Linked DNA regions of Homo sapiens: region 1 is linked to region 2. Evidence: promoter capture Hi-C in 16 types of primary human blood cells and fetal thymus (Javierre and others, 2016). All regions are on one chromosome and are shown on one strand. Each heading gives the region's core, a stretch centred on a gene start or on the middle of the fragment in contact. The rest is flanking DNA. Distances are from core to core; before and after follow the strand shown. Region 1 has its middle 18 kb from the start of COA7. Region 2 holds the start of TUT4 (terminal uridylyl transferase 4).

Region 1 (6,954 bases), core at 3,485-5,984, 130 kb after region 2:
AGTCTGACCTCAGCAAGTTCTCCTGGACTCTCCGCATGGCCCCAGCTGGAGGGAACTTGGGCACAGAGCGTGCTACAGGGAGTCCATGTCCTCCTGCAGCTGACCTTAGCCTTTTAGCTCCTGTTCATCAGCATCTACTTGGTACCCAAAAGGTCCTCGGGTGCTGTTTGAGGGTCTCCCTGAGACTGCAAAGTGTTTCCAACATCAGGATGTGAGGCAGCCTTGAGTCATATGAAGAGGGTTTAGGAGACAAGCAGGACTAAGTTCTAATCCCGGCTGCAATACTCATTGGTCTGTGAGTCTTTCTGTAAGCCACTTTGGCTGAGCCTCAGTTTATTTGAAAAACAGTGAGAATGAAAGTTTCCTGAGATGATTAGAGCATCTGGTACAAAGTAGTTGCTCAATAAATGATCAAAATTTAGACTGTAATTTCCTAAATGATAAAGACTCTGTCAAATCCAGCCCTGCATCCCCAGCGCCCAACCTAGGGCCACCCAGCCTAGAGGAAGCCCTCAGTGTTGACCATATGAATAATGAATTATGGAGGGCACTGAATGGAAATGCCTTATCTGGCTCCCATCTTTCAGGTTTTGCATACTCACTCCACCCAAATCTCATATAGAGTTAGTCCCCTCTGCATCAGCCCTGACAGGCGAGCATCTCCTCTCTTCTTGCATATCCCTGTAATAGGAAGTTCACCTCCTCCCAGAGCTTCTCATTCTGCCAAGTAGAAAATGCTTTCTTCCACTCAGATGTCGATGAACTGAGTTCTGTCTCCTAGCAGCTTCCATCCATTGGGCCTAGTTCTGCTCTCTGGAGCTGTACAGAACAAGCCTAGTTCTGCTTCCGAAAGATAGCCCTCCAGTGAGCTATTACACAATTTAGAATGTGCCAGGCATCGAGCCAGGCACTGCACTTACTTTATCTCATTAAACCCTTTAACCCTTACACTAACCCTGAAAAGTAAACATTATCCTTACTCTAGAGATGAGGAAAATGAGGCTCATAGAGGAAACATAACACATTTGCAGAGAAATTATTTAAATCCAGATTCTTTTCCAAAACGCTACCTTTTCAATGCTCAGTTGATCTACTGGAAGATAGCATTTGTCTCTGAGAGTTTCCCTTCCCTTCCCTTTCCTTCAATAAAGATTTATTATGTATCTCATCTGTACCAGATCCTGAGCTAGGCACAGGGAATAGAAATGAGACATAATCTATTAGGACATAATCTATTGGGACAGGCACTTAACAGCCTGTCCCAAACCATGTGAAAAGGACAGAGACAGGCTGGGCATAGTAGTGCCATCATTTTGGGAGGCTGAGGCAGGTGGATCGCTTGAGTTCAGAAGTTTGAGACCAACCTGGGCAACATAGTGAGAACTTGTCTCTGTTTTTAAAAAATCAAATTAAGCCTGGACGAAGTGGCTCACGCCTGTAATCCCAGCACTTTGGGGGGCCAAGGCAGATGGATCACTTGAGGCCAGGAGTTCGAGACCAGCCTGGCCAACAGGCCAACATGGCAAAAGCCCATCTCTACTAAAAATACAAAAATTAGGCAGGATGCCAGGTGCCTGTAATCCCACCTACTTGGGGGGCTGAGGCAGGAGAATCGCTTGAACTTGAGAGGCAGAGGTTGCAGTGAGCCGAGATCATGCCATTGCACTCTAGCCTGGGCAACAGAGTGAGACTCTGTCTCAAAAAAAAAACAAAAACAAAAAAACCCACTAAATTTTAAAAAAGGAAAGAAAGAACTGAGAGAAGCACAAGGACTATCAGAAGACCACGGAACTTGAGGGTCCAGGATGACTTCCTGGAGGAGGTGACATGTGGGCTAAGTTTTAAAGGACTATTAGGAATTGTAAAGAGCTGAAGGTGTGGAGACCAGACTGCAGAGGGGTTGTAGTGACAAGCTAAGGAGCTGCGGCTTTACACCACTTGAGTGGGCTGCCCATTTTAGTATGAATAAGAATTTCCCGTGGTTTTCTTATTTAAAATCCAGATTTTCATTCCGTAGGTCTTGGTGGACCCAGACATCAGCAAAAGCTTGGCTGTAAGAAACAGCCTGGGTATTTTGTTGTTACTTTTTCTTTTAAAATATTTAATGGATAAACAAAAAGTGTATATATTCAAGGTATACAGTGTGATGATTTGATATACATTGTGTACTGATTACTATAGTCAAATTAATGAACGCATCCATCACCACTTAATTTCTCTCTGTGTGTGTGTGTGTGTGTGTGAGAGAGAGAGAGAGATAGGGATATTTTGGGGGTGGGGCAGGTGGTGCAGAGACCACAAGCAGTTCCCTGATGCAAAGATGCCTGAGTTAGGAATAAGATGGGGCTAAATATGGAGGCAGGGATCATCTCATGGGAGTGGGGAGACACACTGGGCAAAGAATTTTGGCCTTTCCCCTTTAGACAGTGGGGAGGCCTGATTTATAAACTGTAATACAATCACCATTCCTCAAGCCTGGGGAGGGGCACCAGCTGGGAATAGTTTCCACTCTGGGCCCCCAGCAGGTGCAAGTCTTCTCAGTGACTCTGTGCTCAGGCAGTGGAGAAGGGAAAAAGTAGGGGCAGCCCCCTACTTTTCCCCTGCCCCAGGCATGCCCCCTGCAGCTGTTTTGTGCCATCAGTACCCCTGGAGAGCCTCACCGTCAGCTCCCTGGATATTCAAAGAATGGCAGCAAAGGCAGGCTGTTTTAAAAGCTAGACTCCCTCACAAGGTAACAATACCACTCAGAAAAAAGACAATTATCTAATTGTAAGATTTCATTCCACAAAAGTCTTTTTAAATCAGCATTTATCATTCTACGATAAGAGTTACTATTTACTCCTCCTAACAACCCTACTAGAAGACATTGTTATCCCCACCTGAGAGGTGACAAAATCCGAAAAGAGGGTAGAGTAACTTGTCTAAGGTCACACAGCCAATAAAAAGCAAAACTCAGGTCAGAACCCAGGCTAAGACCTTTAGACCTAAGAACTGAAAATAGTCTGGTACACCCCGCCCCCACCAACCCTAATATAGAATTCACAATAAAAGAGATCTAAACTGCAAAATGAACATAAAGAACCCAAAAAAGTCTTCATTCCCCCCACAAAGTGATTACTTGATGCTTTAAAAGAAATGTAGGCCAAGAGCGGTGGCTCACGCCTGTAATCCCAGCACTTTGGGAGGCTGAGGCAGGCAGATCACGAGGTCAGGAGATCGAGACCATCCTGGCTAACACGGTGAAACCCCATCTCCACTAAAAAAAAATACAAAAAATTAGCCAGGCATGGTAGCGGGAGCCTGTAGTCCCAGCTACTCGGGAGGCTGAGGCAGGAGAATGGGAGGCGGAGCTTGCAGCTTGCAGTGAGCCAAGATCGAGCCACTGCACTCCAGCCTGGGTGACAGAGCGAGACTCTGTCTCAAAAAAAAAAAAAAAAAGGAATATAACATTACTATTTTTAAATGTATATATTTCTCATTCTTTGTTAGGTGTCCTAAATATACATGCGTATTCTGCCTTTGACTAATCCAGAATTGTCCACATCTGTAGGATCTGAAGTCTAGGCATTTTCCCTCTGCCACGCTGCCCTTCATACAATTTTTCAAGCAACTTCATAAAACAAATAAAAATGCTATTTATTTATAAAACTTAAAAAATCACCCAACAGTTCAGAGTTCTTGTCCCCATCCCCACACCACAGGCTCCAAATCAATATGAATAGCTCCACTGTCCACCTAGATGCCCAAGCTAAACCTGTTTTGGTTTATATTTTTCAACCTCATGCTCAACCCCACCTTCTTCCCACCCCCGCATGGCTCAATTTTGCTTATTCAGCTGTCTGGCCTCTCACCTGTGCTCCCTTCCTTGCTTGACAGGCCTTAGCTCAGGCCCCACCATGTCTCACCTTGACATCTGCAGCCATCTCCTCATTGGTCTTCCTGCCTCCAGTCTTTCCCCCGTGATTCATTTTCTGCACTGGGGATGATCTTTCTAATTTCCAAACCTGATCAAAACCCTTTCGTGACTCTGCATTACCCACAAGATAAAAGCCAAATCTCTATACCCTCAGGTTTTCCCTTCCCTCTCTGGGACTCTTCCTTTCCTTCCTCACAGTACTGAGCACCATACTGTCAGATTTTAGTGAGAGCATTGGCCGGGCAGAGCGGTTCACGCCTGTAATCCCAGCACTTTGGGAGGGAGAGGCAGGCAGATCATCTGAGGTTGGAAGTTCAAGACCAGCCTGGCCAACATAGTGAAATGGTGAAACCCATCTCTACTAAAAAATACAAAAATTAGCTGGGCGTGGTGGCCTGTAATCCCAGCTACTCAGGAGCCTGAGGCAGGAGAATCTCTCAAACCCGGGAGGCAGAGGTTGCAGTGAGCCAAGATCGCACCACTGCACTCCAGCCTGGGCAACAGAGTGAGACTGTGTCTCAAAAAAAAAAAAAAAGATTTTAGTGAGAACACAAACCGCCAGAGTCAATTATGAACCGTCTTTCCCATTAGACAGACCATCAGGCCAGCTCTGAATGTCCTGTATCCAGCCCAAGCCTAGCATGGAGGAAAAACGTAGGAAATAGTTGTTAATGATGATCCAATGCCTGCTGGCTAGAAGACACAGTAATGATACTGCTTGCTGTGACCAGAGTCTGAAAAGCGATTTTCAAACCTTGCCTCAAAGGCTGCATTAAAGTGAGAAACTTATCCATGCTGGCTCTTACCAACCTACTGCTTCCCACAGTAGCCTGGGTATGAAATGGCCTTGGACCATTCTGAACAGTAAATTATTATTCTTTGCATTTTAATAACTTTAGGGAAATATAACATTTTGACACAGTTAATGCTCACTCTATTGTTCCCTGCCCCACTAAGTATGTGACTCAGGAAGGCAAGTACCAGAAGTCCCAGGTAGGAACTCGTCCATAAAAAAAAAAAAAAAGGCTGGGTGTAGTGGCTCACGCCTGTAATCCCAGCACTTTGGGAGGCCGAGACAGGTGGATCATCTGAGGTCGGGAGTTCGAGACCAGCCTGGCCAACATGGAGAAACCCTGTCTCTACTAAAAATACAAAATTAGCCGGGTGTGGTAGCACATGCCTGTAATCCCAGCTACTCAGGAGGCTGAGGCAGGAGAATTGCTTGCACCCGGGAGGCGGAGGTTGCGGTGAGCTGAGATCATGCCATTGCACTCCAGCCTGGGCAACAAGAGTGAAGTTCCATCTCAAAAAAAAAATCCAGTACATCTGCCACCCAAAAATCAAACTTAGTTCTTCAAAATTACAAAACCCAGTGGGGCAAGTGGCTCATGTCTGTAATCCTAGCATGTTGGGAGGCTGAGGCAGGAGGATCGCTTGAGCCCAGGAGTTTGAGACCAGCCTGGGCAACACAGCGAGACCCCATATCTACAAAAAACATGAAAACTAACTGGGCATGGTGTCACGCACATGTAGTCCCTAGCTACTTGGGAGACTGAGGTAGGAGGATCACCTGAGCCCAGGAGGTTGAGGCTGCAGTGAGCTATGATTGCACCACTGCACTCCAGCCTAGGTGACACAGAGAGACCCTATCTCAAAAAGAAAAAAAAAAATTACAAAACCTGTTAGTTGAAAAGATATGATTCTTGGCAGGGCACAGTGGCTCATGCCTGTAATCCTAGCACTTTGGGAGGCCAAGGTGGGTGGATCAGCTGAGGTCAGGAGTTAGAGACCAGCCTGATCAACATGGTGAAACCCCATTTCTACTAAAAATACAAAAAATAGCCGGCTGTGGTGGCGCTCGCCTGTAGTCCCAGCTACTCAAGAGGCTGAGGCTGGGGAATCACTTGAACCTGGGAGGTGGAGGTTGCAGTGAGCTGAGATCACGTCACTGCACTCCAGCCTGGGTGACACCATCTCAAAAAAAAAAAAAAAAAAAAAAAGATATGATTCTTTAAAAAAATGGTTAAATAGTGAGAACGCTATTGTGCCAAAGAATGCCCATAGGTGATAAAAGAATAGTGAGGGGTGATGGTTTCTTCTGTTTCAAATTGCATTTTATGAGAACATACTAATTTTATAATAAAAAAACTTCAAACCTTGCATTTTTAAAAAGTCAATATGTTTTTTTTTTAAATTGTGGTAAAACATAAAATTTACCATGTTAACCTCTTTTTTTTTTTTTTTTTTTTTTTTTTTTGAGATGGAGTCTCACTCTGTTGCCTAGGCTGGAGTGAAGTGGTGCAATCTCAGCTCACTGCAACCTCCACCTCCCAGGTTCAAGTGATTCTCGTGCCTCAGCCTCCTGAGTCGTTGGGACTACAGGCGCATGCCACCACGCCCAGCTAATTTTTGTATCTTTAGTAGAGAGAGGGTTTCACCATGTAAGCCAGGCTGGGTTAACCATTTTTAAACATATAGTTCAGTAGTGTTAAGTATATTCACATTTGATGTGTAACAATCTCCATTATTTTTTCATCTTACAAATTTGAAACTCTTTACCTATTAAACAACCCATTTTGGCCAGGCATGGTGGCTCACACCTATAATCCCAGAACTTTGGGAGGCCGAGGCGGAAAGATCACTTGAGCTCAGGAGTTTAAGACCAGCCTGGGCAATATGGCAAAACCTCGTCTCTACAAAAAATACAAAAACTAGCTGGGCGTGGTGGTGTGTACCTGTAGTCCCAGCTACTTGGGAAGCTGAGGTGGAAGGATGACCTGAGCCCAGGAGTTAGAGGCTGCAGTGAGCTATGATAGTGCCACTGCACTCCAGCCTAGGCGACAGAGCAAGAGCCTATCTCAAAACAAAAACAAAAACAAAAAACTCATTTCCTCCTCACCCCAGCCCCTGGCAGCCACCATTTTACTTTCTGTTTCTGAGTTTATATACAACTCATACCCAAGTTTAGATGCCTCATATACAGCATGTCTTTTTGTGACTGGCTTATACAGCATGTCTTTTTGTGACTCTCTTAGCAC
Region 2 (7,272 bases), core at 1,601-4,100:
CTCTAAGATTAATAACAAAAAGTCTACATATCCTGTTTTAAAGTATGGTGTCCCTTTCCTTTGACTTTTTTAGGTCTTTCTGGAATTGTTCTTTTTTAGAACGTATTTCTATCCTACTGCAGTGGCTTTAACTGAATTTAACATTTTTTAATCAATTCAAGTATTTGCAATTTATTTGAAAAAGGAACACAACTCATTGAGTTCTATTTTGTCAAACAAAATGTTCTGGCATCAACATTAACAGGTAAGTATTGCTTTTTTTTTTTTTTTTTTTTGTTTAAGACAGGGTCTTACTCTGTCGCCCAGGCTGGAGTACAGTGGCGCAACTGTGCCTCACTGCAACCTTGAACTCTGGGCTCAGGCAAACCTCCTACCTCAGCTTCTGGGACTACAGACGCACACCACCACGCCCAGCTAATTTCTTTTATTTTTTGGCAGTGACAAAGTCTCACTATGCTGCTCAGACTGATATCAAACTCCTACGCTCAAGCAATCCTCTCGCCTCCACTTCCCAAAGTGCTGAGATTACAGGCGTGAGTGAGCCACCTGGCCAGGCCCTACAGGTAAGTGTTGGTTATTTTGTTTCTCTGAAACTAGAAACTTTAACAGTGAATAAATTCAAACACCTTTCTTGATCAACAGATCCTGATTTGACATTCTGTAGAGAACACAACATAATTAATGGTACTTATTTTTATGTCAAGATTAACTTTGAGATAAAAAAGAATTCTAATTACTTACTCTAAAATGAATCTGCTGAGAGCTAATAAAAATTCTCTTTAAACAGCTCTTTGTTAATCAGAGAAATTTATAATTATACATTTTGATTCTAAAAGGTCTAAAATTAAAATGTAGACACTGTACTGTTCTAGCTCCAGCAACTAAAAATAAATGTAATTTTAGGTGTCACTTAGAATTTATAAACTTGAACTTATATGCATGACAATATTTGTTAATTTATCTGTACTAACAACTTGGCCTATGACAATGAAAATACTTTAAATTTCTTTTCTGTATTTAAATGTTTGCTGGATTTAAAACATCAAATGTCATTAACTTTCACTTCCATTTCTGAATTATTTTAAGAAAACTTCATTTTTCATTTTCCACACTAGCCAAGTGAAAAACTGCAAGCAGCAGAAAAATTTATCTAAGAGTTTTAAAAGTAAGTTTCTTTTGTTTATATTAAATATAAATATTTTTAAAGCATAAAACGACTTAAAATTCTTATCTTCCCCAAAGTATATGGTTTCTAAGAAGCAATCTTTAAAAATTTGTTTATAAAAGCAACATAGCACACTAGACACTAATGAGTTATCTTAAGCACAGCTTTTTAAGAGAATCAATATTTCATTTTACCAGTTGTGACTAATCAGTACTACGATGCAGTGTAGTGACATACATGAGTTCTAAGCCTAAAGAAAATTTCAGCGCGCTCGCGCGCGCACACACACACATACACACACACACACAAAGTCGGCTTTTCTTTTTAAACCATCCCACAATTCAACACCTCTCGGTGGTATTCTCTGAATTATCATATCTGGCTGGGATTATCCAATTTTATTAGCTAACAGTTCTCATTACTTTAAAAACAGAAACAGGATATGTTCTGTTTCATCAAGTGCTACAAACATTTCGCTGCTGTAAGACTGGAGGGAAAAAATCTTTGGAAATAAAAGGCCATCTGATCCACTCGGGCTAATTACTAAATGCATGCCAACAATACACAATTCGAATTGCATTTCTGGACACAATTTAAGATCACGATAGGGCAGGTCAAATGTGTAAGGAACTACTACTTCTATCAAAATGAAGAAGCAGATATACGGTATCTAAGATCTCACGCAAAATTCATCTAAGACTTCGAAATCTTCTGAAAAGAAAATGTGTAATCAACGTTGTTAATACAACAGTAATTCATCCCATTCAAGTACGACTAGAAATCCCGCTGATGTGCTTCTTTCAGGTCTAAACATCTCATTCTTTCGCAATCCAGATACCAACAGGAGTCTGAAACCCTTCGCAGAGGCGTGCAACACACTAGGAGAGCGCTATCTGTTTACAAATACGAATCTCAGTTACCCACGTCAAAACCGCGCATTACCACCTTTCGACTGGGGGGCGGGGGAGAGAGAAGGCGGGCGAGCAAGAAACAAAATCCACACAGACACCTCTGCCTTCTCCCTACAAGGACGAGCCCGGGGAAACATTCAGTATGTATTATATGCGTGTATACATTTATATACATTATGTAGTCACCTATGTCTAAGCAAGGGTGAAAGAAAAAGGTACACATGACAGGGAATCGTAACTGGACCCAACAGAAATGTTCAAACCAATCCCGTTAACTCAAAATCCGCCCCGCTGGTCTACAACAGGTTTCGGTCCGGGACCGGGAGCCCCAGCCACAGTGTGGAGTTCGTCCCCAAAGCGCCCCAATGCCCTCCTCAGGCCGCCCAGGCCGCCGTCCCCACCTCCCTTATCTCAGCCTTCCCCTGGGACACCCGAAGCCCGTTCCAGGAAAGAAAGAAGTGTCAGGCCCCCAGGGGGCGGCTGAGACGCTCTCAGGCCAGGCCCCCGACACCTGCGAAGCGCGGCACCTGGGGAGGGCGAACCGGGGGCCGCCCGGCCTTCCCGAGCACACCCCCTCGGTACCCGACGCTGCCCCGCGGCCGGAACCTCGTACCTGCGAGGCCCGCGAGCTACAGGCGCGCGCGACGCCTCCTCATCTCAGTGGCTCCTGCTCTCCCTCCGCCTCCTGCTGCCGCCGCCGTCGCCGCTGCCGCCGCTGGAGGCCGGGACACGACTAGCTCAGGACTCCACCGCCATGTCCGCCGCGCCGCGAACTGCATTGTGGGGGGGAAGGGATGGGGAGGGGGAGGAGGAGGGAGAGGGAGAGGGAGAGAAAGAGGAGGACCCGCTGAGGGGAGGGGGCGAGGGAGAGCGGTTGCCGGGGGAGAGGGGGAGGGGAGAGGACAGAGCCTGTAATGGGGTCCTGGCCCGGGAGAGGAGGAGCTACGCGCAGAGGGAAGGGTTCAGGGGTGCCCCCTCCCTTCGTTCGGGGGGCCCCACAGGCACCGTTTACACCGGGGCGGGGGAGGGGGGAAACAGCACTGGGGGGAGGGGTCTCGTGGTGGCCGCGAAGAAACAATGGGGAGAAGGCCGAGGTAGGAGGATCGCGCACTCACACCCACGCGGAGGGAAGGGAGCGCGCGAGAGACACTCGTTAGCTCGCGAGGAGGGGGCGGGCCGCTGGCAGAGGGGAGGAGGGAGCCACCCGGGGCTCGCGGGCAGGGGCGGGGCCGCCGAGCGGAGGTCGCGAGGTCCCGCAGCCCGCCTGGGCGCCGCGGGTTAGCCGCGCTGATTCGCCCGCTTGCCGGAGTGGGTGGGGGTGGCGGGCGCCCCAGTGCTGCCCCAGTCTGGTTCCTAGTCTCTGCCGAGGCCCCCGAGCTGGAAGCCGAGCCCGAGGGCCGCCTCGGCGCCTCGCTCCCAAGGCTGCTCCCCCTGGGGAGGAAGGCCGGCCTGGAATGGGTACCCTCTGGCCTGGCACTCGGACTGGGCGTGGCCCGAGCCTCGGCGGACCCTCGGAAGCCCAAGCGGGCTTCGGAGCAACGGTAGGGAGCGGGGCAGAGGAAGCCGCCAGGGTCGACCCCCACCCACTCACCACGGCCTCCAGCCCACCGCAGCTGGACCTTTTTTCCTTTGAAAAGGCAGGCAGTTCAGGAATGAAGGAGCTCGAAGAGAAATCTCTGGAGCACTCCATCTCCCACCCCCAAAAGAGGTTTTAGAAATCATTTCTTTAGCTGCAGGCGGGCATAAAACCATCTACCATCAATGGGCCCCCTCATCCCCTTGCTTTTAACGTATTACATTCCTCTACATAATTATTTAAAGTCACGGGCGGAACGGACTTAAGGTTTTGTTAGTTTTGTTTTTTGTTGTTTTTTTTTAAGACCCCAGCCTCAGAGATTATTTAGCCAATCTCTGACCTCAAAGCTGGACAAAGCACACAACCTCTGTGCTCTGTGCCCAGTCCTTTGAGTTTGACACATGCTAGGCAGGAAAAAGGTATGAAAAGAGTGGACGTAGAGGTGAAGGGAAGATGTTAAATCTTAAGTATTTACAAGATAGTGCCTTATAAATTTTCTTATAATGTGACTCAGGCTGGGACTGGTTAGAGGTCACAGAGGGACGCTCCACTTCACGATAGCCCTGTGAGTTACGTACTGTTGCTCTCATTTACGGATGAAAAAACTAGGGTTCAGAGTTAGTGCATTTTACCCCAATCTGGCTGATGCTACAAGGCCCAGGTATAATGGATAGAGGACTGGATTTCAAGTCAAAAGAGCCCTACCTGGTTTTGGCGTTTATCAACATGATGCCTTTGAGCAAATGTACCCTCTTGAGTTTCCTCATCTGCAAATTCTTAATCTGTATCCCTGCTTCGCTTGACTAGCCTGGAAACAAAGAAAAAATCCCTACTTCACCCGGCTGAAAGCCTAAAGCCTATAGAGACACTAAGAAGATACCGACATGCCCTTCAATTCAGTGATAGCAGTGTCCTTAGAACAAGTTCAATTGAGTAAACATTTCCTAATTACTTAAGAGCAAAGCGTTGTTAGGTGCCTAGGGAAACAAAGACAAATCATTGCTTCCTGTCTCCAAAAAGTTCCCCATTGAGCAAGCAGGTGAGCTACAATAAAAGCAACAGGTCTTATTAACAAAGGGCTGGGCAAATCCAGAGGAGAGTGTGATAAATTCCACTTTGGTGAGACTTCCGTGGAAGAACTAAAAGCTGGACCTTGAAGATCTGTCTGCTGTGTGCCAGACACATGTCTGTGATTCAGAGGGCAGCATTGACTCTGGAGTGTGCAGAAGATAATGAATCTGGAAAAGAAAACTGGGGCCAGACTGAAAATTTCAGTGCCTCTCTGCCCTTATCCCCTCCAGATACTCTCTTCTACTACCTTGCTTATTCCCCAAGACCCAGCTCAACCTCTACCTTCTTTATTAAATCTTCCTGATTACCACCCCTCCTCTGCACTCCACTGAATGTGATCCCTCTATTCTCTGAATTCCGTGACCCCAATAGATTGTACACTTCAGCACAGATACTTACAAGGTATTCCTTCTGATACCTACATAGTTGTCGAGTTGAAAATTTTGACAACTATAATTTTATCATCACAGCTAGAGCAAGTATGGTTCTGACACAAAGAATAAGGAAATTTATGGAGTATAAGGTTTAATTCATGCCCAGGGTCATACAGTAAGTCACAGGCTGGACTAGAATACCAGCCCTGTATTCTTCCCATTGAACCACAGGTTTTTGAGATATAAAATGGTAAATGTCTGATTTCTATGTAAAAATCCTCTGAGGACTTAAACTTTCAAGGGAAATCTCATGATTGTGGTTAAGCCTCCAGTCTGGAAGTTCTGAAAACTTAGTTTCATCCAAACCCAGGTGAAAATAACTTGCAGTAAAAATCTTATTTCATTGTATCTCATGAGGAATATAATTACTCAGTGGATCAATATTCATATTCTGTTGTCTTCCTAGGTGAATAAGAAAACTTAGTAAAAAACTAATAATATTGAATGAAAAGGTGACTTGGTAAGTAAAATTATAACAAGAAAGGTGCCTAGTCCCAGCACTTTGGGAGGCCGAGGTGGGCAGATCACTTGAGGTCAGGAGTTCAAGACCAGCCTGGGCAACATGGTGAAACCCCATCTCTACTAAAAATACAAAAATTAGCCAGGCATGGTGGTGGGTGCCTGTAATCCCAGCTACTCAGGAGGTTGAGGCAGGAGAATCGCTTGAACCCGGGAGGCAGAGGTTGCAGTGAGCCGAGATCATGCCTCTGCACTCCAGTCTGGGTGACAGAACAGGACTCCATTTCAAGAAAAAAGAAAGGTGCCTAAGTCTGTTCAAACCAAGTTTTGCTGTTTGATCATAAAGGGCCCTGTATGCCACTGGAAAAAAAGCAGGCTTTATATTATAGTTATTGGGGAATCACTGATCACTTGTAAGCAGAGATAAATACAATCAGACCTGCTAAGCTGTTTCTCTGAGCCCCATTTTTTTTTTTCCTGTGTACTTGATTTCTCCAAGGAGAGAGACTATAGGCCCTGGGTGATAATGATCTCTAGTGAAAAACAGTGCATCACCCCCATGATGTGGTCCTAACCAAGTCTCCTTTACCTTTGTATTTTCAGCACCCAGCATAATCCTGACACATATAGAAAGCACTCAGAAATTGCTTGTTGACACTCTAAATTGTCTATAAAGCATAAGATATGGTCAGTGTCTAAAATTTTTGTGATTCTTGCAAAGATCATGACAATACCAAAGCTCTTGAGGTGTGTGCTCACCTCAAGATAGTGTAAAGGATTTACTTCTCTTTGTCTGTTTGCATTCTTAAAAGTCAATGAGATGAAAATGTGTAAAAATGCCTATTTCATAGTAAATGTTCCACACAAATGAATTCCCTTTCTTCTTAAAATTTAGTTTCTTCTCATCTGCCCCATTTGGATTTCATGTGCCCTTAGACTCACACTAGCACATGTGTGTACTTTCTACCTGTTGATTCCATTTCATCTGTCCTGAGGATTCTATGCGTGGAATTTTAAACTACAGCCACACCCTGCAGCTTACTTCATTGAAACATTAGAAACAGTCAGTTTTTCTTAAGGTGGCATTTTTTTAAGTGAATAAGATTTTAGAATTTAAAAGGACATTAGCGTTCATAAAGTTAGAGATATCAAGAACATATATACATGGCAGAAGATGATGCTATAAAGTTAGACTAGGACCGCATCATTGTTAAAAAAGCAAGTTTTTATTCTGAAGTTAATGGGCAATCATGGAACATCTGTAAACAAGGAGAGAGATGTTCAGACTTGCCTTATACAGCAGGTGTTCGTCTGACTTCTGTTTGTACATTCATAGCTATAGAGAGCTCATTCCTTACCAAATCTGCCTGTTCCAGGAAAAAGAAGTACTTCCTCAACAGAGCTGGACTTTTCCTTCTGTGATACATATTTGTTGGTAATCCTGACCTTAGGAATAACATCAGCCTTCTTTATACATAAAAATGAGGGAGCCAGGCATGATGGCTCACACCTGTAATCCCAGCAATTTGGGAGGCTGAGGCAAGAGGATCAAGGCCAGGAGCTTGAGACCAGCCTGGGCAACATGGTGAGACCCCATCTTCAAAAAAATAAAATTTGGCTGGGCACCATGGCTCACACCTGTAATCACAGCACTTT

The links. Contacts are between HindIII fragments. The CHiCAGO score rates a contact against its expected background, and 5 or more counts as called.
Region 1: a fragment that was not itself captured here is called in contact with the fragment with the promoter of TUT4 in region 2 in 1 of 17 cell types (neutrophils); the score reaches 6.6 in neutrophils.

Annotation. Positions count from the first base shown.
Region 1 is chr1:52,676,730-52,683,683 of GRCh38, forward strand. No RefSeq gene overlaps it. Among named protein-coding and RNA genes, the nearest start is that of COA7, 18 kb to the right of the region's middle. The HindIII fragment of the contact is 5,380 bases long and covers 2,045-6,954 here.
Region 2 is chr1:52,550,242-52,557,513 of GRCh38, forward strand. It overlaps TUT4 (terminal uridylyl transferase 4), which reads right to left and starts at 2,851. Exons shown (of 30, transcript NM_001009881.3): 1 at 2,690-2,851. LOC105378723 (a long non-coding RNA gene) reads left to right here. Exons shown (of 4, transcript XR_007066083.1): 2 at 439-563; 3 at 1,116-1,165; 4 at 2,000-2,596. RefSeq lists silencers at 2,464-2,793, 2,864-2,993, 3,034-3,143, 3,154-3,553. The HindIII fragment of the contact is 23,021 bases long and covers 1-7,272 here.